Linked DNA regions of Homo sapiens: regions 2, 3, 4 and 5 are each linked to region 1. The links are contacts of gene promoters, found by promoter capture Hi-C in blood cells and fetal thymus (Javierre and others, 2016). All regions are on one chromosome and are shown on one strand. The core of a region is centred on a gene start or on the middle of the fragment in contact, and the rest is flanking DNA. Distances in the headings are between cores, read along the strand shown. Region 1 holds the start of RESF1 (retroelement silencing factor 1). Region 2 overlaps BICD1 (BICD cargo adaptor 1). Region 3 overlaps BICD1 (BICD cargo adaptor 1). Region 4 overlaps BICD1 (BICD cargo adaptor 1). Region 5 overlaps BICD1 (BICD cargo adaptor 1).

Region 1 (4,104 bases), core at 1,252-3,751:
AATCAATTCCCTAAGCATTTGAGCTCCAATTATATCCAAGACACTGATAATCTAGGAGGGAAGAGAGATTCCTGTACAATCACAGAGATAATGTAGAACAACAAAGCTTTGGGGCAAGTTTGTCCTGCCTAGGAATTTGGAGGCATTTTTTATTCCAAACAAGCCTGCAGGTAAATCCAGATGTGGACCAGTAGTGACAGGTACTTCCTAACAAAACAAGACCTACAAAAAAGAGAATCTAAGAGGATCTACAGTGATGGGTTTAATCAATAAAAAGCTCATAAATTTAGAGCTTAAATGAACCAGCTGAATTTCTGCTAAGGCAGCATTACATGTCCCAGGCCACAAAATCTATTTCCTCTAACATGACAATAGCTAACATTTATTGGGCACTTGCCATGCATCAGGAGCTGTTTAACTGTGATATGCATGAAACTCATGTAACTCTACCATAACAATCCTATGACATTAGTGCTTGTCCCCATTTTATAGATGAGAGAACAGGCAGAGGTTTATTTTCCAGGGTTGGCTGAGTGCTACAGCCAAGATCTGAACCAAAGCAGTGTGGTTACAGGGACCATGGTCTTAATCATTAGGTGAGACTTCCTAACACACTTTGTGGTTACAGATGAAAGCCCTGGACATGATCACTTTGGCTGCACGGGAAGCATCCTCCCAGAGTGGTGCTCTGCGCCACATTCCCCTATGTGCCACCAACAGTAATAAAATATAATAAAAACAATCAAATAAACACAGCACAGACAGAAGCAGACCTCTGCCCAGGTAACTTCCACCACAATTCCCTTACCAAAGACCTCTTTCCTTATTTTGCTAAGATTAACAACTGATTTTTCAGTACTATGCCAACAACATTTCTTCTCAAGCTTTGCTGTCAATTCCATTGTGACCCACAGTTTAATTTAAAACCGATGTTGATTCACTGAGCTAGTAATTTTATTCGGTAATAGGTGAATTACTCCATAGTTGAGTGTGAATAACCGCCTGGTTAAATCAGGGCGGGTTTCTTAGAGGTGATACACTTACCGTTGAGCACAACTTTACTCTTTAATTATCGTGTACATTCCCATTTCCCTCCAAACACGTCAGTCCCTCTCCACACAGTGTTTACTTCTTTGGTCCTAGGGACAGCAAGAAACATTTTATAATAAAAGAGCACATGCTAATGTGTTTACTAGATATGACACTGCTGTGCAAAACTGTTTTCTTTTATGGCTGCACTGAAAGCATGCTAAGTTTACTGAATTCTTATTAAGTGTCCTAAGTAACAGAAATAGAAACTAGGTCTGGCCTGAAAATACCATTCACTTAAGTTAGAATTTATGTGCGCTCCTCTAGGTCCGCTATTGTAGTATCACTGCAAAACAATAATACTTTATCTCTGCACTTGTCTTTATTGGATTAATATTAAACAGAAAAAAATCCGACTGCACAGGGGAAAAAACCTAAAACCTTAACATGCATGCACATTAACAGTGACTGAAACATGATTAAAGCTAACACATTTAGCAGAAAAATGCAATCCCCAAACAAGCTCTGCGGCCCGCCTACTGAAATGCACCCGCCCGCCACTAAATGAAAATGCGCCTCAAGCTCATACACATCCTTATGTTAAGACAGTATGCACTCGATGTACTACAAATAAATTGTTTTCACGGAAATGATTCCCCGAAAGTTTGCTGCTGAACTCAGGACCCTAAGGACGTTTGCTTAGGGAATCCGTGTCCCTCGAGAACACCTAAGATGGGTATGCGTTTGTGCATTTAAAAATGCCTCAAGGAACTATTGCTGAGGAACAGAAACCATCGCCGGCGCAGAAGCGTTCGCGGACCACTTGGAGATAGATGCCAGTACAGCAATTCTGTTCCAGGAGGCTTCGGCTTAAGAGGGCCGGGGAGGAGGAGAACCCTCGGGAAATAGCAAAAAAAAAAAAAGATTTTTCTTTTTCACTCCAGCGACAGGAAAGCCTTAAAAACATAAGCAGCTCTCATACCCACCCGCCTCACCAGCCGCGCCTCGCAGTTCGACAAAATGCGTCCTAGCCTTCGCCACTCGCGACCTCTACCGCGCAGAGCCAGGCAATGAGGGAAAACAGCCAGCGAGGCCCGCCCTCCGGTGCAAGGCTCGGCATCCGCGGAGGCCCAGGGCCGGCCCCGGTGCGGCGGGCAGAAGCAAGCGCGGCGGCCCGGCCCAGCTCCGGTGGGCGGACGGCGGGACGCGCGAGCCGGCGGGGCCCGAGGCCCGGGTTCCGGGGCCGCCCGCGACTGCGTCTTTGCCGCAGAACAAAAGCGCTCTGCGCCGCGCGCAGGCCCGGACCGCGAGTGCCTCTGGCTCCCGGCTCCCGGCCCCCGCCCCGCCCGGACCCCGGAAGGCGGAGGGACCTCGGGGTGCTCGTCTCACACTTACCGACAAAGGGAAGAGGACCACCCCGGCAAGCGGGGAGAAAACCGGCGGCCTCCCGGGCCCCAGAGTTTAAGTCAAGTGGGGTCCGCCTCCAGGGGCGGGTCGAGGAGCCAGGCCCAGGATCCAGGAACAGCTACGCTCCGCCTCACGCCCGAGGCGGTGGCTGCGAGGGCCGCGCCGCCGCGGTCCTAGTGCCACCAGAGAAGCCGCGGACCCGGCCCGCAGATAACACCCGGGCTTGCAGAGCGCTTTCATCTGCCCGACGCGGAAATCTCCTGCAGCGATCTTCTACCTTCAGCGTGCATCCGCAGCACCCAGAGGGCACGTTAAAGAGAGATTGAGAACCACCAGCAAAACTGCTGATTCAGTAGGTTTGGGGTGGGGCTGAAAAATGTGCATTTCTAACAAGTTCCTGAGACCGACTGTTGCTGCTGGCCTCAGGACCAATTTTTTCTATAAAGCGCATGGAAGTCAGAGTGCACCCAAGAGATTGTTAACCCTTAAAAAACAGAAAAAAAAAAAAGAAATCAACAAGTTAGAGGCAAATAAGTGTGAAAGAAAGTGGATAGTCTATTTGGGGATTCTGAAAGTCCCTGAGGAAAGTTGACTTTGGAGACCAGATCACGAAGCACGACCTCTTAATTGCCGACCTTTTGTTATAGATTAACTCCCTTATTTTCTTGTTCCCAGCTCAGACCAGATGGCATCTGAGATAAAATACGCATTGAATAAGATAAATGACCGCTTGACTATTACATCCTTAATGTGGAATGTTAAATAGACCCTTCCCAAAAAGAAACACTGCCTTGAACCAATCAAATTGCTATGCGTTAACCTTCTATGGAAAATGTTGACATCCTGTTAAGCTTCCCAGACCCTGCCTGTGTAAACGACCCTCAAACTTCTCCCTTTCGAAGCACTGACCCCCATCTTTTGGAGTCTGTGTCCTACCGGGTCGCCATCCTCAAACTTTGCACTCAAATAAACCAATATTTAATCATATTGCCCGAATCTCATTATTAAGGTTTACGTAAGCGTTTACTTAGTAATGAAGGTTGCAACCAGGATGGCAAATCAGAGATTGTGCCACTGGAGAGGGGCAAGGGAGCTTATGTTTATAGGAATTTATTTGTTACATAAATTGTCAGATTAGTTCATTGGTGAATTAAACGAAGAAGTCTTTAGTCATTACTAGAAGAGTGCGTTTGCGTCTGTCAGAAACAAAACAAAAAAACTACATACAGAATATTCTTTCTTTTTTGGGGGGGGGACGGAGTCACGCTCTGTCGCCCAGGCTGGAGTGCAGTGGCACGATCTCGGCTCACTGCAAGCTCCGCCTCCCAGGTTCACGCCATTCTGCTGCCTCAGCCTCCCAAGTAGCTGGGACTACAGGCGCCCGCCACCATGCCCGGCTAATTTTTTGTATTTTAGTAGAGACGGGGTTTCACCATGTTAGCCAGGATGGTCTCGATCTCCTGACCTCTTGATCCGCCCGCCTTAGCCTCCCAAAGTGCTGGGATTACAGGCATGAGCCACCGCGCCCGGCCAGAATATTCTTAAAGATTGGGGGTGGCCAGGTGTGGTGGCTCAGGCCTGTAACCCCAGCACTTTGTGTCACGCGCATCCGTGTGAAGAGACCACCAAACAAGCTTTGCGTGAGCAACAAGACTGTTTATTTCACCT
Region 2 (4,417 bases), core at 15-2,514, 330 kb before region 1:
ACTGATGCAGTTCCAGCTAATAAAATAGGCAGACACTGTAATCTCTAAGTAGTGGCGTTAGCTCAGAGTTTTGGGGAGGATAAGGGGTTGTTGACTGTGGTGTAAAGACAGATGTTAAAAAAATTATTCTGACACTTGTTAAAATGGTAAGGAAGACTTCATTCAAAACCATTGCAATTGGAGGGGGGAAAAGAAGGGGCTCAACTCTGAAACAGCAAGAGCAAGTGAAGATTTATAGCCAAGAACAGCATGAGGATGTCAAAGGATGGGAAATTGCTAAAAGAACACATCAAGGGCAGGGGAATTCTTGCTAAGCTGGCCTAACAGGACTCTTGCTAAAGGCAGTCCAAGGACTTAGACATCAAAAAGGTGGAGGATGAAGAACTTGATCAGATATCAAGGGTAATTAGATATCTAGGGTTGGGAGATGACTTAGCAGAATTCCTTGCTAAGGCTGGGCTGGGCAAGCCAAAGCTGGGGGTGGAGCAAGCTTGAAGCCTGGTCCAAAAGAGACATTAGCAGAGCATGACTGAAGCTTGGTTAAGGAGAGAGTCTTTGACACCTCACAGTCATGAACTGCAGTCTGATAGGAATGAAAGCTAAGAAAGTTTGCAAGACACTTTACCTGGTGATAATATGAATATAGATCCTAACTTGGGCAGGGCCAAAGCTTTTTTGGCATCAGAAGATTTTTATCCATTCTGTATCTTATCATCATAAAAGCTCACTGGCTAGCTTGTAAGGAGTTCCCCAGAGACGTGCAGATTTCATCAATTTAATGTAATATCCTATGGAATGTAATCATCAATCCTGAAGCTGAAGCTATACAAACTAATTGGTTGTTTTGGAAACCTGCTTTCAACCTACTATATGTAACCTCATTTATATATAAGGGGTTGGAGCTCCTTGTTATTCAGAATGCTTCTAGGCTGTCTGGCGTTTTTCACTTTAGCTCTCATTATAATAAACTGGTAACTCCAACAGAGTCATTTCATCAACACTTTAGTAATTCACCTATGCCTACTCCACCAGTTGACTTTAGCCTAATCCTCCCTTTACAGCTTCCCTCTGTTTTTATCAGTGCTGACCTCTTAAAGCAATTCTGTAGGTCACAAGTGTCAACATAGAAGTCTTCTGAAAATAGAGTTTGCCAACTTAAAAGAACCTTACCAAAGGCTTCTATGAATTTCCTAAAAACAAAAAAATGGGCTTCTGTTTCTTGCCTCTCTACAGGAGATTATTTTAAGCAAATATGCCTGAATTTATGAAATAGTAAATATTGGTATATAATACTGTTTAAAGGTGGTTTTCCCAGCTCTAGAAAGCTACGCCCAATCATCCTCTATAAACAACAGACTCTGGGGCTGGGTGCGGTGGCTTACGCCTGTAATCCCAGCACTTTGGGAGGCCAAGGTGGGCGGATCACAAGTTCGAGAGATCAAACCATCCTGGCCAACATGGTGAAACCCTGTCTCTACTAAGAATACAAAAATTAGCTGGGTGTGGTGGCACGCGCCTGTAGTCCTAGCTACTTGGGAGGCTGAAGCAGGAGAATCACTTGAACCTGGGAAGCAGAAGTTGCAGTGAGCTGAGATCGCACCACTGCACTTCAGCCTGGCAACAGAGCAAGACTGTCTTAAACAAACAAACACACAAACAAACAACAGACTCTGATATCACAATAGATATATGGAATAGCAAAAAAGAATTTTCTTATTTCTGCCAAGATAACTGAAAAAAGTTAGCAATGACCCCAAAAAATCATAAAATACAATTTACATACAATACCTACTTTCACACTCTGTGGGTATGGTGCAGTGGGGAAGTGGAGGTCCCTTTGCAAGTTTCAGAAGCTTTCAAAGAAGTCACATGATCTGGCCCTACCTCTGTCTCCAACCACTCTGCCCCTCAATCTTTGGCTCTGGCCGCAGGAGCTTTCCTTCTGCTCCTCTATCCCATTGGACATGCCAGCTTGCTTCTGCCTTGAGGCTTCTATACTCCTCTTTCCAGAACTCCCTGCCTTTAGATCAAGGGCTCCTAATCTCATAATGTGCTTGACCCTCTTTGACAATGTGCTGAAGCCTATGTACCTCTTCTCAGAATAATATTTTAAAAAGTGTAAAAGACAAAATTACAGAAAACACCGAACATGTTAAAATTACTATAATTTTTTTTTTTTTTGAAAGAGTCTTGCTCTGTCACCCAGGCTGGAGTACAGTGGCATGATCTTGGCTCACTGCAACCTCCGCCTCCCAGGTTCAAGTGATTCTTGTGCCTCAGTCTCCCAAGTAGCTGGGATTACAGGTGCCTGCTACCACACCTGGCTAATTTTTGTATTTTTACTAGAGACAGGATTTCGTTGTGTTGGCCAGGCTGGTCTTGAACTTCTGACCTCAAGTGATCCACCTGCGTTGGCCTCCCAAAGTGCTGGGATTACAAGTGTGAGTCACCAAGCCCGGCCAACTTATTATAATAATTTTTAAAATTATGACATAGGCTGGGCACAGTGGTTCATGCCTGTAAACCCCACACCTTGGGAGGCTGAGATGGGAGGATCACTTGAGTCCAGGAGTTTGAGACCAGCCTGGGCAACATGGTGAGCCCCATCCAGAAGATTATTTTGTACAAAAAAAGAACATGCCAAAATTAGCCAGGTATGGTGGTGCACACTTTTAGTCCCAGCTAGTCAGGGGGCTGAAGTGGGAGGATTGCTTGAGCCCCAAAGGTCAAGCCTGCAGTGAGCCATGATCATGCCACTACACTCCAGCCTGGGCTACAGAGTGAGACCCTGTCTCAGAAAAAAAAAAAAAAAAAAAAAAAATTAGGACTTGGTAGGTGACAGGTAAGTATATTAATGGCCCCCAATTAATCACACTTCCCTGAAGTCACAACCCATGGAATTCCCTCTCAAACTGACTGAGCTGGCCTTTGGATTTGTTATGACCCACAGAAGACAGTGGAAGTGCTGGGGAGTTCTGAGCCTGAGCCTCACGGGGCTTTGTGGCTCATGCTCTTGCTGTCTTGTAACACTGTGACTATGTGAAGAGCCCCAGGGTAGCCTGTTGGAGCCATGTGGCCCAGCCTGCAGTCAGCACCAGCTGCTGGGCATGGGAGGAAGGCCATCTTGGACTATTTGGCCCAGTGGGGCTGTCAGATGACTGCAACCACATGAGCAATCCTGGCAAGTCCTTAAGAACCACCCAGCCGAGGCCGGGCACAGTGGCTCATGCCTGCAATCCCAGCACTTTGGGAGGCCGAGGCGGGCGGATCACAAGGTCAAGAGATCGAGATCATCCTGGCTAACACGGTGAAACCTCGTTTCTACTAAAAAATATAAAAAAGTAACCAGGTGTGGTGGCGGGCACCTGTAGTCCCAGCTACTTGGGAGGCTGAGGCAGGAGAATGGCGTGAACCCAGGAGGCAGAGCTTGCAGTGAGCCAAGATCGTGCCACTGCACTCCAGCCTGGGCGACAGAGACAGACTCCATCTCAAAAAAAAAAACAAAAAAAAAAACACCACCCAGCTGAGCACAGCCCAAATTGCTGACCAACAGAATCATGGGTTATTGTTTAAAGCTCCCAAATTGTGGGTCATTCATTACCCAGTAATACATAATCAATACAGTAATACATGTGCTTCTTTATTAACACAATTAGAATCAGATCTAGTATCACATCCAAGAAATCTCATAATTTCAAAGCAATGATAACATTTCAAGACACCTGTGAAAACTGAGATATAATTTAAAAAAACTATACTTTCTACTGGTAACAAAGTAACAAGTGCTACTAGTACTACTGAGATTTGTTGTCTACATTCAAATAGAAGAAAATGCTAAATTTCAGTCTGAGTTGAGTGAAAATACAGATGTAATTATTTTTCTGATCCAAGTCTATAGACCTCCTGAAATCTATCCACAGACTCCCAGAAACTCAGCTGAAAAACTCTTCTGTGTTTACTTGTTATTTAAGTCTCATTTCAGATGTCATCTCCTCAGGGAAACCTTCCCTGAGCAACTAATATAAAATAGCTCCCCTCGCCCTCCACTCACCCATCAGAGTTACTTTATAGATTAGTATTTAGCATGGAGTACATACTTAGAAAATAAGTGTTGACAGAATGACACTGATTATTATTTGAAACTGGCTACTTACTTTTTATACATTTTATATTTATTACATTTCCTTTTGCATCTGAATATAATGATCCTTTGCTGCCTTGTTATCCTGTGTCCCTAATACCTGGTACATTTTAGGCCCTAATGACCATGGAATGAATAATAAAACAGGTATACAAGTGATTAATCCCCCAAAAAATATATATTACATGGATGACAGCTTCCTGTGTTGTGTTATTTGAGAAGGAGGCACAAAGGGAGAACAATGCACTTTGAAATAAAATACACCTAAATCTTCAA
Region 3 (4,263 bases), core at 219-2,718, 310 kb before region 1:
GTAATTTACAACTTGATTTGCAAATCAAGGGATTAAAAGTTAATCCCTCAGGGGACTGAAATATGAGTGTGTGTATATATCATATATCTAATGATAAACATATAGATCACTAGAATGTGTATCTCATATGGCGATCTTCAATTACAAGCATGAATTTATTTTTAATAAGCACTTACACAATGTTTACAATGTGCCAAGACTATTACAAGCACATTGTTTTAGAAATATAAAACTCTTTTAACCTTTTAGCCTACATAGCAATCCTGTGAGTTGGACACCATTATTAGTCCCATTTTACAGCTTGGCCAACTGAGGCAAGGGAGGTTATGTAATAATTTGCCAAAAGTTTTAGAATAAAATAAGTGGTATCAGGAGTCAAACTCAGACTGTCTAGTTCTAGAACATATGTTCTTAACCACTATGCTTTGCTACTTCTAAAAATGCCTTATTAACGTGATTTGTTGTTGGAATGGGGTGGCTAATGCTAATCAGATTATTGTTATCTCTGTCTTTAGGTCATAGTTTCCCTTTCTGTGTAAAATAACAAATTAATATAAATATAAATATAAACGCCTCAGTAAAGTGGCCTCAGATTATGATTTAGTGGATACTATTTCTGAAAAATATATTGCTTTATTATTTTCAAGATGACTTCCTACAAATTCTTCAGAACTGATTCTGGAGCTAATGGTAGCAATAGCTGCTCACATTTTGAATATTCATTGCCTTTTAAATAACTTTCATAAGTAGAAAACCTGGTTACTGAAACAGAGCAATATCTGTGACCCTGACTATCAAAATGTGTTTCCAGAATCTTTCCTGTTCTGTATTCCATGACTGTGAGTACAATAGGGTAACTAATATAGAATTTCAGTTCTGATGTTCTTATTAAAGTTACAGACTTCGAGGTATTGATCTGTCTTAAGTTGGCTGCCACGCTGATTTTCTACAATCATATTAGAAGTCTAGAAAACTCAAAGATGTGTTTTTAAGTAACTATATGTTAAATGTGATCAATTTTTTTCTACCTCTTACAATCTACATTAAAGTGTCGAAAAGAACTCTTCTTACCAAGGTCCCCCACGAAACCCTGCCTTCAAGCCTAAAAGAGCCTGAAGGCTGAAGAACTGGACTGCTGGTCCCGGATAAAGCCTGCCCTTTCTCAGCTGATTCTCTCTGAATAATGCCCACCTGCACACTGGGGGAAGAGGGTGGAGCCAAGAGAAGTTTACGCTTGTTCAGCGGGGAGGAGCCTGGCCTCTTCAGTTCCTGTGTGGTGGCCTGGTGTTCAGTCTGTGAGGTGGAGGGCCTGTTGGCAAGACTCCCTCTCGCTTTGCTGAGAGTTCTTTTTCCTTTTTCCTTTTCACCCAATAAATTCTGCCCCTCACCCTTCTATGTGTCCCTGAGCCTAATCTTTTCCGGTTGTGTGACAAGAACCCGGTTTTAGCTGAACTAAGGAGAAAGTTCTGCAACAATGATAAGGATGAAATGGACTAGCTAGTGATTTCTACTATGTTATTTAAAGTCTGAAACTGCCTTGAGGCACCCTCTACTAGCTGATCATTATTACTGAAATTTAGACACCGCTTGGTACGTGGTTTAATCATCCAGTTTCAGCAATGTGACGGGGGTATAATGGCTTTTCTGTACACTTGTATCTTGGCTTCCCTGAAAACAGATATCATGCATGCATCTTGGTGGTTCACACCCAAACACAGAGCACATCCAGTGAGCCTGAGGAAAGGCGCTGCTTGCAGGAGTCTCAGCCCCCTCTGTGTCTGCTGGTACTTGCTTTCTCCCGCTGTACCTTATCCTCCAGTTTATACTCTACCAGTATACCCTTTGGAATCTTGTGAGTCTTTTCAATGATCTGACTCTGTGTCACTACTCCAATTTCAGTAAAAGCAAACAAAAACAGAAATCGAGGCTATGAGAGTAGAGTGCAATAATGATGAATTCTGGCAGCCACCCAGGAAGACACCATTGAAAAGACAAGGTCCTGCCTCCCTTACGTCTTGCACACTCATGATGCTGAGCCTGTCAGTGACCAAAAATCAGACTACACAAGTCAGCCAAAAGTGAAACAGAGGTGTCAAGCATATGAACTGCATCTGAAAGTTTTTGCCTTCCTAAGAATATTCTTAGGCCTCTTCTTCACACACTCCAGAGCAATGAGAAACATTTGGAATTGAATTTTCCTATAAACTATATCTTTGCAGATAGACTTTTAAAACCAAATAAAGTCCTGTGGGTTTTTCTTTTCTTTCTTTTATACGAACATAACAACTGCTTCACTGTCATTACTTATTTTCCAATCTAAACCCTCCACAAGAGTCTAGAACACCATGTGACTCAAAATAAACTTTTCAATCAATTACAAGGCCATTGAAATGGAAAATCTTGATTTTTAAAAATGTTTTAATATGTTTCCTTAACCACATTGTGGCAGGCCAGGTCTCACTAGTAGCTGAGATTACAGGTGCACGTCACCACGCCCAGCTAACTTTTTGGTATTTTTAGTAGAGACAGGGTTTCACCATGTTGGCCAGACTGGAATAAACAAGTTTTATTGTCAGTCTGAAGAAATTCCCCAGGCCTCCACACACAAGTTTATTGGAGGTCTGAAGGAACTCCCCAAACCTCTGTGATTTAGCAGGAGACAAGATAAGGGTAATCACCCTAGCACCTGGACCCATTTAGATTAAGTAAATTTACTGAGGCTCCAGAGAAAGGTCTTCAGGACTCAGATCTTAGTTATAGATTAAAAGAAGTTAATCACTTATGTCTTTAGATGAATGCACACTTATATGTAGACATACAGCTTGGAAGGTTTATAAGCTCTGGAAAACTTTGTAATTTTGAGTTGGTGTGGTGACAATTTCTAGGCCTTCTCCCTGTAACCAAATGCAAAAATAAAACCTCTCTTCCCCAGTTTGTCTGCATCTCATTATTGGGCCAGGAGAAGTAGCAGCCTGACCCTCAGTTTTGTCCAGGAGCAACATGTATATGATTTATACATTGAAAAGAAATTTCTCAGTCATAAAAGAAATAGTGAAAGAACATTATGATTTAACAATATATAACTAATATGTAATATTAGTGGTTGGGAATTAAATATGGCATAAGTAGTTAAATAAAAAGTAACTTGTAGTACATGTTTTACTACAATAATGGGTAAACTGAGGCCCAGAGAGATTAAGGAAACAGGTAGATCATAGAGCTAAGAAATGAGAGATGTAGGTTTTGACCCAGGAACCCTTAAGTATGAGCTCCTTTCACTAAGACACCTTGACATTGTCTCTTGGCTTCAGGCAGTAAGTAAAAGAAAAACAGATGGAAAGGAAACAATAAAATATGCAAAGAGAAAATGAAGAATTCTCTGAAAATTATCAACTTTAAATCGAGATCCAGGCAATAGGATTAAAATACTGAGCACAAAGTTTGAGGAGGGTCACCCAGGAGGACTCCAAAAAGATGGGGTTAGTGCTCTGAAGCAGCGAGGTTTGAGGATTGTTTATACAGGCACGGTATGGGGAAGCTTAACAGGATGACAGCATTTTCCACACAAGGTTAGTGCACAGTCGCAGCAATCTGACTGGTTTTAGGCAGTGATTCCTTGGGGGAAGGGAGTATTTAACATTCCACATTAAGGATGTAATAATCAAGGGATCTTTTATCTCAAGTGCTATCTGGTCTGGGCCAGGAACAATAAAATAGGAAGGAAGTTAATCTATAACAAAAGGTCAGTAATTAAGGTCATGGTCTGTCACTCCCCACTCAGTCTCCCAGTCAACCTTCTTCAGGGCCTAACATCTTTCAGAAGCCCCAAATAGACGAACTGTGCATTTTCTTTCACAAAATCAAAGAGATAAGCGCCTCATTTTGGGGGCCTCCAAACTGGGGAGAGGGCTGGAAGCACTGTGGAAACAGAACTAAGGGGCCATAGCCTCCAGCTCTGAGCGAAGTCTCATCTGGTTCAAAGAAAGGACACTAATTCAGGGAGAAAATGGAGTGTTTGTAGGATGAGAACATGCTTTCTTTCCTTGGAGACTAAGTTCCACATAGGGGCTCCAAGTCTGGCTCCCTTCCCCCAGCCCTGGGAAAGAATTTTGGAAAGTGTGAGCATCTTCTTTTGGTGCCTAATTGCCTGGGGGTCATACAGCCTGGAGCTGCTCTGTTGAGGACAGCGCATGGTGGCTTCCGGCTGGCCAGCGGCTGCTCTCTATGTTGTTCCTTGAAGACCCCACTGAACACACTTCACAC
Region 4 (4,298 bases), core at 533-3,032, 370 kb before region 1:
CTAGGAAACCTTAGTTGCTTCCTCTGCATTGTTCTCATAACTTGGATTACAGCATGTGTAACGTTGAACTGTAATTGTGTTTCTATCCTGACATCCCCAGGAGGCTGAGTCTTCTGGAAGGCAGGGACCATGTGTTAGTCTTCTTTGAATCTTCAGCATCTAGCACAGTGCTAGATGGACGGTGCTTCATAAGCATTTACTGACTTCATCAGAAGGCACTGTGCCTATGAAAAAATCCTTAAGTAAATGAGAAGATTCATAGAGACTACAGAATGCCTATTTATTTATTTTTAACTTTTAAGTTCAGGGGTACAGCTGCAGGATGTGCAGGTTTGTTACATAGGTAAATGTGTGTCATGGGGGTTTGTTGTACCAATTATTTCTTCACCAGGTATGTAAGCCTAGTATCCATTTGTTATTTTTCCTGATCATCTCCTTCCTCTCATCCTTCAGCCTCCAACAGGAACCAGTGTGTGTTGTTCCCCTCTATGTGTCTATTTGCTCTCATCATTTAGCTCCCACTTATAAGTGAGAACATGCGGTATCTGGTTTTCTGTTCCTGTGTTAGTTTGCTAAGGATAATGGTCTCCAGCTCCAACCATGTCCCTGTAAATGACATGATCTCATTCTTTTCTTTCTTATGGCTGTATAGTAGAATGCCTATTTTAAAACAGGGAGATTTCCTTTTTTCCCCTGTACCCCAGAATTCTCACCTTAACCTTAAAAACAAACATTTCACAATGTCTAAATAAATATAGTGAATGTCATCTGTTAATACTTGAAGCTATTTACGGCAATAAGCATCACAGCAACAGCCCCAACATCATGAACGTGCAGACCAAATGCATTGCTAGAAATGTGTTTTCATTTAATTTACTGAGCCCATATAGACTGTAACTCTAATGTAATGCAAATGGTACAGGTTGAGCATCCTTAATCCAAAATCCAAAATGCTTCAAAATCTGAAACCTTTTGAGTGCTGACATGAGCCACAAAATTCTACACCTGACCTCATGTCATGAGTGGCAGTCAAAACTTTGTTTCAGCCACGGAATCATTAAAAAAATTGTATAAAATTACCTTCAGGCTATGTATATAGGAATACATGAAACATAAGTAAATTTCATGTTTGGACCTGGATCCCATCCCCAAGATAACTCATTATGTATATATGCAAATGTCCAAAATCCAAAATCTGAAACATTTCTTGTCCCCCAAAACATTTCGGAAAAGGGATACTCAACCTGTACCACAAAGCACAGTGAAAATAAAACTTCAGCTAGGAATGCTTTGTTCTGTTCTGATTTCCTGTGGTACTGTTTACATCACTCTAAAGTGCTTGATAAGTCCTGTCTTGTAAACAGCTACAGGCAATTGCGGAATTCCTACTAGATTATGTCATTTATTTTTGCATCCCTACTTACTGCCTCCCAGAAAATATGTAATCAATGAATGCTTGTTCACAAATTAGTCTCTGTTGGTTGGCCAAGTGTCCTTATCTATACCTCTGTTTCAGTTAAGCATCTTGATTTTTTTTTTTTTAAGACAGATTTTCGCTCTTGTTGCCCAGGCTGGAGTGCAATCATGCAATCTAGGCTCACCGCAACCTCCGCCCCCCGGGGTTCAAGTGATTCTCCTGCCTCAGCCTCCCGAGTAGCTGGGATTACAGGCACCCGCCACCACGCCTGGTTAATTTTGTATTTTTAGTAGGGACGGTGTTTCTCCATGTTGGTCAGGCTGGTCTCAAACTCCTGACCTCAAGTGATCCACTGGCCTTGGCCTCCCAAAGTGCTGGCATTACAGGCGTGAGCCATTGCGCCCAGACCTAAATTGTTAATATTCAACCTTTAGGAAGAAGTCAGAGAAGTTATCTGGATGGCTTGATCAAGAATGCCCCAGGATAGCATGTCCTTGTGTAAGCCTTATCTAATATGGTATTGGTTATTTATGACCACTCTGAATCATTGGGTCTTTAAATTATAGCAGAGTTACAATAATAAATTCCTTTATTCCGACCTAAAATTAGAGTCAGATCTCTCACAAATTCTTCATTCACTCTAATCTTTTCTTTTTTTATTTTATTTATTTTATATATATATATTTTAATTTACTTTAAGTTCTAGGGTACATGTGCACAACGTACAGGTTTGTTACATATGTATACATGTGCCATGTTGGTGTGCTGCACCCATTAACTCGTCATTTACATTAGGTAAATCTCCTAATGCTATCCCTCTCCCCTCCCCCCACCCCACAACAGGCCCCGGTGTGTGATGTTCCCCTTCCTGTGTCCATGTGTTCTCATTGTTCGATTCCCACCTATGAGCGAGAACTTGTGGTGTTCGGTTTTTTGTCCTTGCGATAGTTTGCTGAGAATGATGGTTTCATTCACTCTAATCTTTTCTATTTCTCTAAAGTGACAACATAAAATAAAGTCATATTTTGCCCTTAGGTTTATATAAAACATGTTAATAGTGCAAACAATATTATGGCTTATGGTATAGATGTCAATTATATAAATAGATTTATGGGAACTAGAGATGAGGACTTGAAAGCTGCACTGTAGATGAGATAATAAGGGCGTGGTTTTCCCCAGATGATGGCAAATGGAGAAGACACTCTGAATCTGAAATTAATCCTCATTCTCCAAAGACCAAGAGCTCCCTTGACCTACTATTCACTGGCACTGCTTGCGTTTGCAGGAGGGTATTTGGTGCTTTGTTGCTTCTCTTTATCAACACCAACATTTATTCAGCACCTTTCTCAAATATGTGTCTTTCAAGAATATCTTTTCAGATAAACTAAATAAAGGTGAAAATAATTTTCCTGCCTATATTTCGCAGCACTCCCACCAAGGTAAAACTCAGGGTGAAAACAATTTCAGTCATTAAGGAGGGCTGGGAATTAGACAGGTTCATGTTGTAACATTACTACTTGTCCAGAAGGACAAGATCAATAGCTAGGAAAAGCTCCCTATTACTTAACCTCTGACCCAGGTGGGTTAACATCCCAAATGAACCTAAATTTCAGATACGTGGTCAGTAGCACAGGTAGAGCTCATTCTTATACTCTCTCACACACACTCTCTATTATTTCCTTGCTAAAGTGGCCCCAAACTATTTAATTTGTTGGTAACAATCTGTCTGGCTTTGTTTCTGTTACTCACTCAGGTCCTCACAGTTGTCTTGCCTTTCATCCCTGACTTATTCATTTATTTAGCGCTCTTGTTTCTCTAAGTTTGGGATGAAGGACAAAACACTCCTTTTAATCTTGCTATACTTGGCTGGGCGCGGTGGTTCATGCCTGTAATCCCAGCACTTTGGGAGGCCGAGGTGGGCGGATCACTTGAGGTCAGGAGTTCGAGACCAGCCTAGACAATATGGTGAAATTCTGTCTCCACAAAAAGTTAGCCAGGCATGGTGGCACATGCCTGTAATCTCAGCTGCTTCGGAGGCTGAGGCATGAGAATCGCTTGAACCCAGGAGGCGGAGGTTGCAGTGAGCAGAGATGGCGCCAGTGCACTCCAGCCTGGACAACAGAGCGAGACTCTGTCTCAAAACAAAAATAAAAAATAATAATAATAATAATTTTGCTATACTCCTAGAAATTGAGTCTTGAATCTGAACCTCCAGCTCCAAAGCTGGGGTCCAGTTATTGGCCATCAGACCTTCTTCACCATATGTACCCAGATTTCCCTCTGTTTGCTCTAGCTGCCTGCTGGGTGTTTGTCTTTCTTGCTGTATCGCCCTGGTTGGTGTAACCTGCCTTGCCAGCCTATTCTGCCACCCTCCATCTCCTGTTTCCACAGCCACTCACTGCCAGGCTTCAGCCCAGCACCGCCTGAGCTGCCTTTCTACATCTGCAGAAAGGCATCTAGATCTTCTCCTGTGTTCCTGCTTTAAGTTCCTCACCTCTGCCTCCACCTAACTGGGCACAGGTATTTCATCATTTAAAAACAATAATTATTATGACATTCTGATCTGGCACTGGGACAGTTTTATTTATCCACTTACCAAGAATCTGAACTCTCATCTTGACGATACTCGATACTCAATAAAATTAGGGAATAAATTAGTTAAGAAAGCTTTGACTGGCATGCTTTCACCAGTAGAATGAGATTACCTGCTTGTTGGCTTTCAACACCGCCCTCAATGTGGCGATCTGCTCCCGTTTGGTGCTCAGCAGGGACTTTAGCTTGAGGATCTCTTCCATTAAGGCTTCCTTGTCTTTATCAATCATGGGGGCTAGCTCCCGAGCCGCTGCTCTTTGACGAGACAGTTGCAAGGACCGGTCCACAG
Region 5 (4,474 bases), core at 1,368-3,867, 290 kb before region 1:
AGAATGAACAGCCAGAGCAAAGGCCCTAAGGGAGAAAGCAGCAGCACGCAGGCCAGTGTGGCTGGAGCAGTGTGAGAGGTAAGCAGGTGCCTGATCACAGCCTTGCAGAACATGGTAGAAACTTTGGGTGGTTTCTCCAAGTTCCATGCCTCATCATTAGAAGATTTTTAAGCCAGTGAGTAATATGGCATAAACAAGGAATATCTGTAGAATAAATGAGCATTTTTAAAGGTTCACATTAGCAGTATGCCTCTACTACCTTAAGAGGTAAGATTTTGGCATGGATAGGGCTTTTTCAACCTCTGTCCAGATGACTGGCACATGGTGGCTGTTATGAACTGAATGTTTGAGTTCCCCCAAACTCCTATGTTGAAGCCCCAGTTCCCAATGTGATGGTAATTGGAGATAGGGCCTTTGGGAATTAAATGGGATTGGATGAGGCTATGAGGCTGGGGGATGATGGGATCAGTGGCCTGATGGAATCAGTGCCTTTATATGAAGAGACATCAGCGAATCTGTCTTGTTGTCTCTTTCTCTCCATGCAAGCACAGAGGAAAAGTCACGTGAGGATGCAGCAAGAAGGTGGCTGTCACAAGCAGGAAGAGGGCCCTCAGCAGGAACCAAATCAGCAGACACCTCGATCTTAGACCTCTCAGACTCCAGAACTGTGAGAAATCAATTTCTGTTGTTTGGGCCACCTGGTCTGTGATATTTTGTTATGGCAGCCCAAGCAGACTAATACAGTGGCCAAGATCTTGTCCAAGAAGAATGAATGAATCTCATGAAAACACTGAATGCATCTTACTTAATGCTTCTGCTTTGGGAGAAAAAATGCCTCTCGAGCTCAGGGAGAACAAAACAGACTAATTAAACAAGGAGAATAGTAAAGGAAATTGCTTTTTAAGCAAGGTTATATATTGGTTCATTGCTCATTTCTAATTGCACCAGAGGGAAACTAGATAATAGTAGTCACTAAATTCCAGAAGACTTGGCCCAAATTTCCTTCATCTAATTCAAAGGCTCGATTCAGCAAGGGGCAGATGATGCGACTGTCCCAATTGAATGAGACAGTGACCACACAATGTGCTGCTCTTGACACAGCATGCTGAACAGAGGAGGAAAGATCTTGGGGAAGGTCAGGTTTTTATTTATGTGCTTGTGCTGCCTATGGATTTCTAAATAGATGTTACAAGTGATTATGTCAAAACGTGGTACCTGTTAAGAGATTTAAATTTTCTATTTTGCTAATTCAGCAAATATTCACTGAGCACCTACAAATGCTAGAGCCTACTCTGGAAGCTTGGGATACAGCAGTGAATATGGTAGGTGGGGTATGGCAGTGAATATGACAGGTGGGATACGGCAGTGATTATGGCAGGTGGGATCTGCCAGTGAATATGGCAGGTGGGAATATGGGCAGTGATTATGGCAGGTGGGATACGGCAGTGAATATGGCAAGTGGGATATGGCAGTGAATATGACATGTGGAATATGGCAGTGATTATGGCAGGTGGGATTCGGCAGTGAATACGGCAGGTGGGATATGGGCAGTGATTATGGCAGGTGGGATACGGCAGTGAATATGGCAGGTGGGATATGGCAGTGAATATGACGTGGAATATGGCAGTGATTATGGCAGGTGGGATTCGGCAGTGAATACGGCAGGTGGGATATGGGCAGTGATTATGGCAGGTGGGATACCGCAATGAATGTGGCAGGTGGGATACGGCAGTGATTATGACAGGTGGGATACAGCAGTAAATATGACAGGTGGGATACAGCAGTGATTATGGCAGGTGGGATATGGCAGTGATTATGACAGGTGGGATACGGCAGTGATTATGGCAGGTGGGATACGGCAGTGATTATGACAGGTGGGATACGGCAGTGATTATGGCAGGTGGGATTTGGCAGTGAATATGACAGGTGAGATACAGCATGAATATGACAGGTGTGGTTCCAGTCCACAAGAGCTTGTATTGCAGTTAGAGGGAAACAGAAAATAAAACAAATCTAGGAAATCTCACATAGTGAAAAATGTTAAAAATAAAAAAGAAGTGTGCTAGAGAGTGACTAAGGAATTATTTCTGTCATTATTTACTTACTATTTGTGATGAATAAGCATTAATTGGAAGCTTAATATTGACCTCTGCTTTCTTTTTCTTCTTAAAAGAGGAAACAGTCTGATCACTTTTACTATAAAAATAAAAAAAAAAAGAATCCACGGCCTTTCTTGAGCTCTTATCATCAAATTAAATTTGTATATTTTGAGTCCTTTTGAAAGGGAAAATGGAAAATGCTGTTAGAGAAGTCCAGTGGGGCATTAAAGTCAAACGATGAGTCAGATTTGGAAAGTAAGCATTTTGAAAGCTGGGACCAGGTTTTCCTCAAGTCTGCATCTTGCATAGCAACTAGCATAATTCCTGGCATTATTAATAATGTAACAGAAAAAAGGGCCAATATATTAACAAGCAGCAATTCAAAGAAAAAGGAATCCAAATGGCTAATAAACATAGTAAGATGCTGGCTGGGCACGATGACTCACACCTGTAATCCCAACACTTTGGGAGGCCAAGGCGGGCCGACTGCTTGAGCCCAGGAGTTCAAGACCAGCCTGGGCAACATGGCAAAACCCAGTCTCTACAAAAAATGCAAAAATTACCTGGGTGCGGTGGTGTGCACCTGTAGTCCCAGCTACTCAGGAGGCTGAGGTGGGAGAATCCTCTGCCTTCCATATGAACCCGGGAGGCAGAGGTTGCAATGAGCCATGATCATGCCACTGCACTCCAGCCGGGATGACAGAGTAAGACCCTGTCTCAAAAACAGAAACAAAAAACGAAAGAAAACAAAAGTAATCAACAACAAAACGATAGTAAAATGCTAAAACCAACTGTGTAGCATCCTATAGGAGACATATCATGACTACAAGATTAATGATAGCTATAAGGCATTAACAAGCTCTCACAGGACTGACACTATGTGCCACTTAGCAGCGTGAGGCCACCTGGCCTGGGGATTTCCAAGCTGGCCCAGGGATTTCCAGGACATAAGGCCACCTCATCACGGATGCAAATCTCGTAAACCTTTAACAAAGCTTACCCTTATAAGACTAGCTTAACCTCCTCTTATGAAAGAAACGCCTGATAATTGACTGAACTAAATGCAGGTAGAAGAAATGGGAAGAATCTCCCAAACTCTGAGAATAGTCTCCAGATGGAGACCCTCCTGGACAGGCAGTCATCTGACCTCTGATTGAATCTGGCCCATGCCACCCACCTGCTCCCACTATCCGACTTGTAAGACCACTGCTAAAATAAATAGCTTGAACATCAGATGGTATTGAAGTCACATCTTTGATGTGAATCGGACTGAAGGGAAGTTGCTTCTAGGGAAACTGGTTTGCTAGGACCATCGAAAACCTCCAAACATGGCAAATTTATAACTCAAGTGAAACGAAGTAAAAAGAGAAGTTATATATATAATATATACAAGATATATAATATATATAAAATATATAGTATATATTATATAATATTTATTATAAATATATAATATGTAATATATAATATATAATATTTATTATAAATATATAATATATAATATTTATTATAAATATATATTTATAAATATATATTATAAATATATAATATATAATATTTATTATAAATATATATTATAAATATATGATATTTATTATAAATATATATTATAAATATATTATATATATAGTGGTAAAGTTTTAAAAGTTTTGTAAAAAAAACAAACTCCCGAGCGCCCCAAAACCGTGTGGAAATATGAACTCTTACTCATCACTGGAGGGAAAGATAATAGATGTCTTTTGAGAAGGCAATTTAAAAAGAAGTATCAAAAGTGTAAATGTACATCCTGCTTTACCTGGAAACTACACCAAGAACAACTTATCCCATGGATCTGTTTGTCAAAATGCATAAATATGAAAGTATAAAGATATTATTTATGATGCAATTTATGAAAATAAAAACTTGAAAATAAACCAAGACTCCATTAACACAGGGAGCTGGACACATAACATCTGGTGCATCCATATAGTAGAACAGTATGTAGCTGTATATAAAAGAATGGAGAGTTCTAGAAAATATACAATTAGGTGATAAAAATCAAGGAGCATTAAACATTTCTGAAACAATATATGAGTGTTAATAGTGGGGTCTAGAACGTGAGAAGGGCAAGGAAAAGATTCTTCCCTAGAGCCTCCAGGAAGAAACCAGTCCTGCTGATGCCTTAATTTTTCACCCAGTGAGACGCATTTCAGAATGCTGAGCTACACAACTATGAGATGGATTCGTGTTGCTTTAAGCCACAAAGTTTGTGGTAATTTGTTACAGCAAACTAATTTAAGTATTTACTTCTATAGCATGGGACTGGAGGTTGAGGTAGTGAGGAGGAAGATTTTATTTTTATGTCATTCCTATTTCACTTAAATATTTTAACATAT

The links. The method cuts DNA at HindIII sites, captures the fragments that hold promoters and counts their contacts. A CHiCAGO score of 5 or more calls a contact.
Region 2: a fragment that was not itself captured here is called in contact with the fragment with the promoter of RESF1 in region 1 in 5 of 17 cell types (naive CD4 T cells, total CD8 T cells, erythroblasts and 2 more); the score reaches 9.9 in naive CD4 T cells.
Region 3: a fragment that was not itself captured here is called in contact with the fragment with the promoter of RESF1 in region 1 in 2 of 17 cell types (naive CD4 T cells and naive CD8 T cells); the score reaches 7.5 in naive CD4 T cells.
Region 4: a fragment that was not itself captured here is called in contact with the fragment with the promoter of RESF1 in region 1 in 1 of 17 cell types (total B cells); the score reaches 5.7 in total B cells.
Region 5: a contact is called between a fragment that was not itself captured here and the fragment with the promoter of RESF1 in region 1, in 1 of 17 cell types (fetal thymus). The highest score is 5.7, in fetal thymus.

What each region holds. Positions count from the first base shown.
Region 1 is chr12:31,957,812-31,961,915 of GRCh38, reverse strand. RESF1 (retroelement silencing factor 1) reads right to left here and starts at 2,501. Exons shown (of 6, transcript NM_018169.4): 1 at 2,425-2,501; 2 at 1,045-1,139. It overlaps LOC105369725 (a long non-coding RNA gene), which reads left to right and starts at 2,612. Exons shown (of 2, transcript XR_931503.2): 1 at 2,612-2,788; 2 at 3,112-3,423. RefSeq lists a silencer at 2,191-2,530 and an enhancer at 3,583-4,104. The HindIII fragment of the contact is 2,403 bases long and covers 887-3,289 here.
Region 2 is chr12:32,286,628-32,291,044 of GRCh38, reverse strand. The region is part of intron 2 of BICD1 (BICD cargo adaptor 1); the gene reads right to left. Among named protein-coding and RNA genes, the nearest start is that of FGD4, 110 kb to the left of the region's middle. The HindIII fragment of the contact is 1,183 bases long and covers 673-1,855 here.
Region 3 is chr12:32,270,917-32,275,179 of GRCh38, reverse strand. The region is part of intron 2 of BICD1 (BICD cargo adaptor 1); the gene reads right to left. Among named protein-coding and RNA genes, the nearest start is that of FGD4, 130 kb to the left of the region's middle. RefSeq lists a silencer at 3,518-3,718. The HindIII fragment of the contact is 4,145 bases long and covers 1-3,540 here.
Region 4 is chr12:32,328,380-32,332,677 of GRCh38, reverse strand. It overlaps BICD1 (BICD cargo adaptor 1), which reads right to left. Exons shown (of 10, transcript NM_001714.4): 5 at 4,123-4,298. Among named protein-coding and RNA genes, the nearest start is that of FGD4, 69 kb to the left of the region's middle. The HindIII fragment of the contact is 4,608 bases long and covers 1-4,086 here.
Region 5 is chr12:32,251,234-32,255,707 of GRCh38, reverse strand. The region is part of intron 2 of BICD1 (BICD cargo adaptor 1); the gene reads right to left. Among named protein-coding and RNA genes, the nearest start is that of BICD1-AS1, 150 kb to the right of the region's middle. RefSeq lists an enhancer at 2,926-3,265. The HindIII fragment of the contact is 959 bases long and covers 2,138-3,096 here.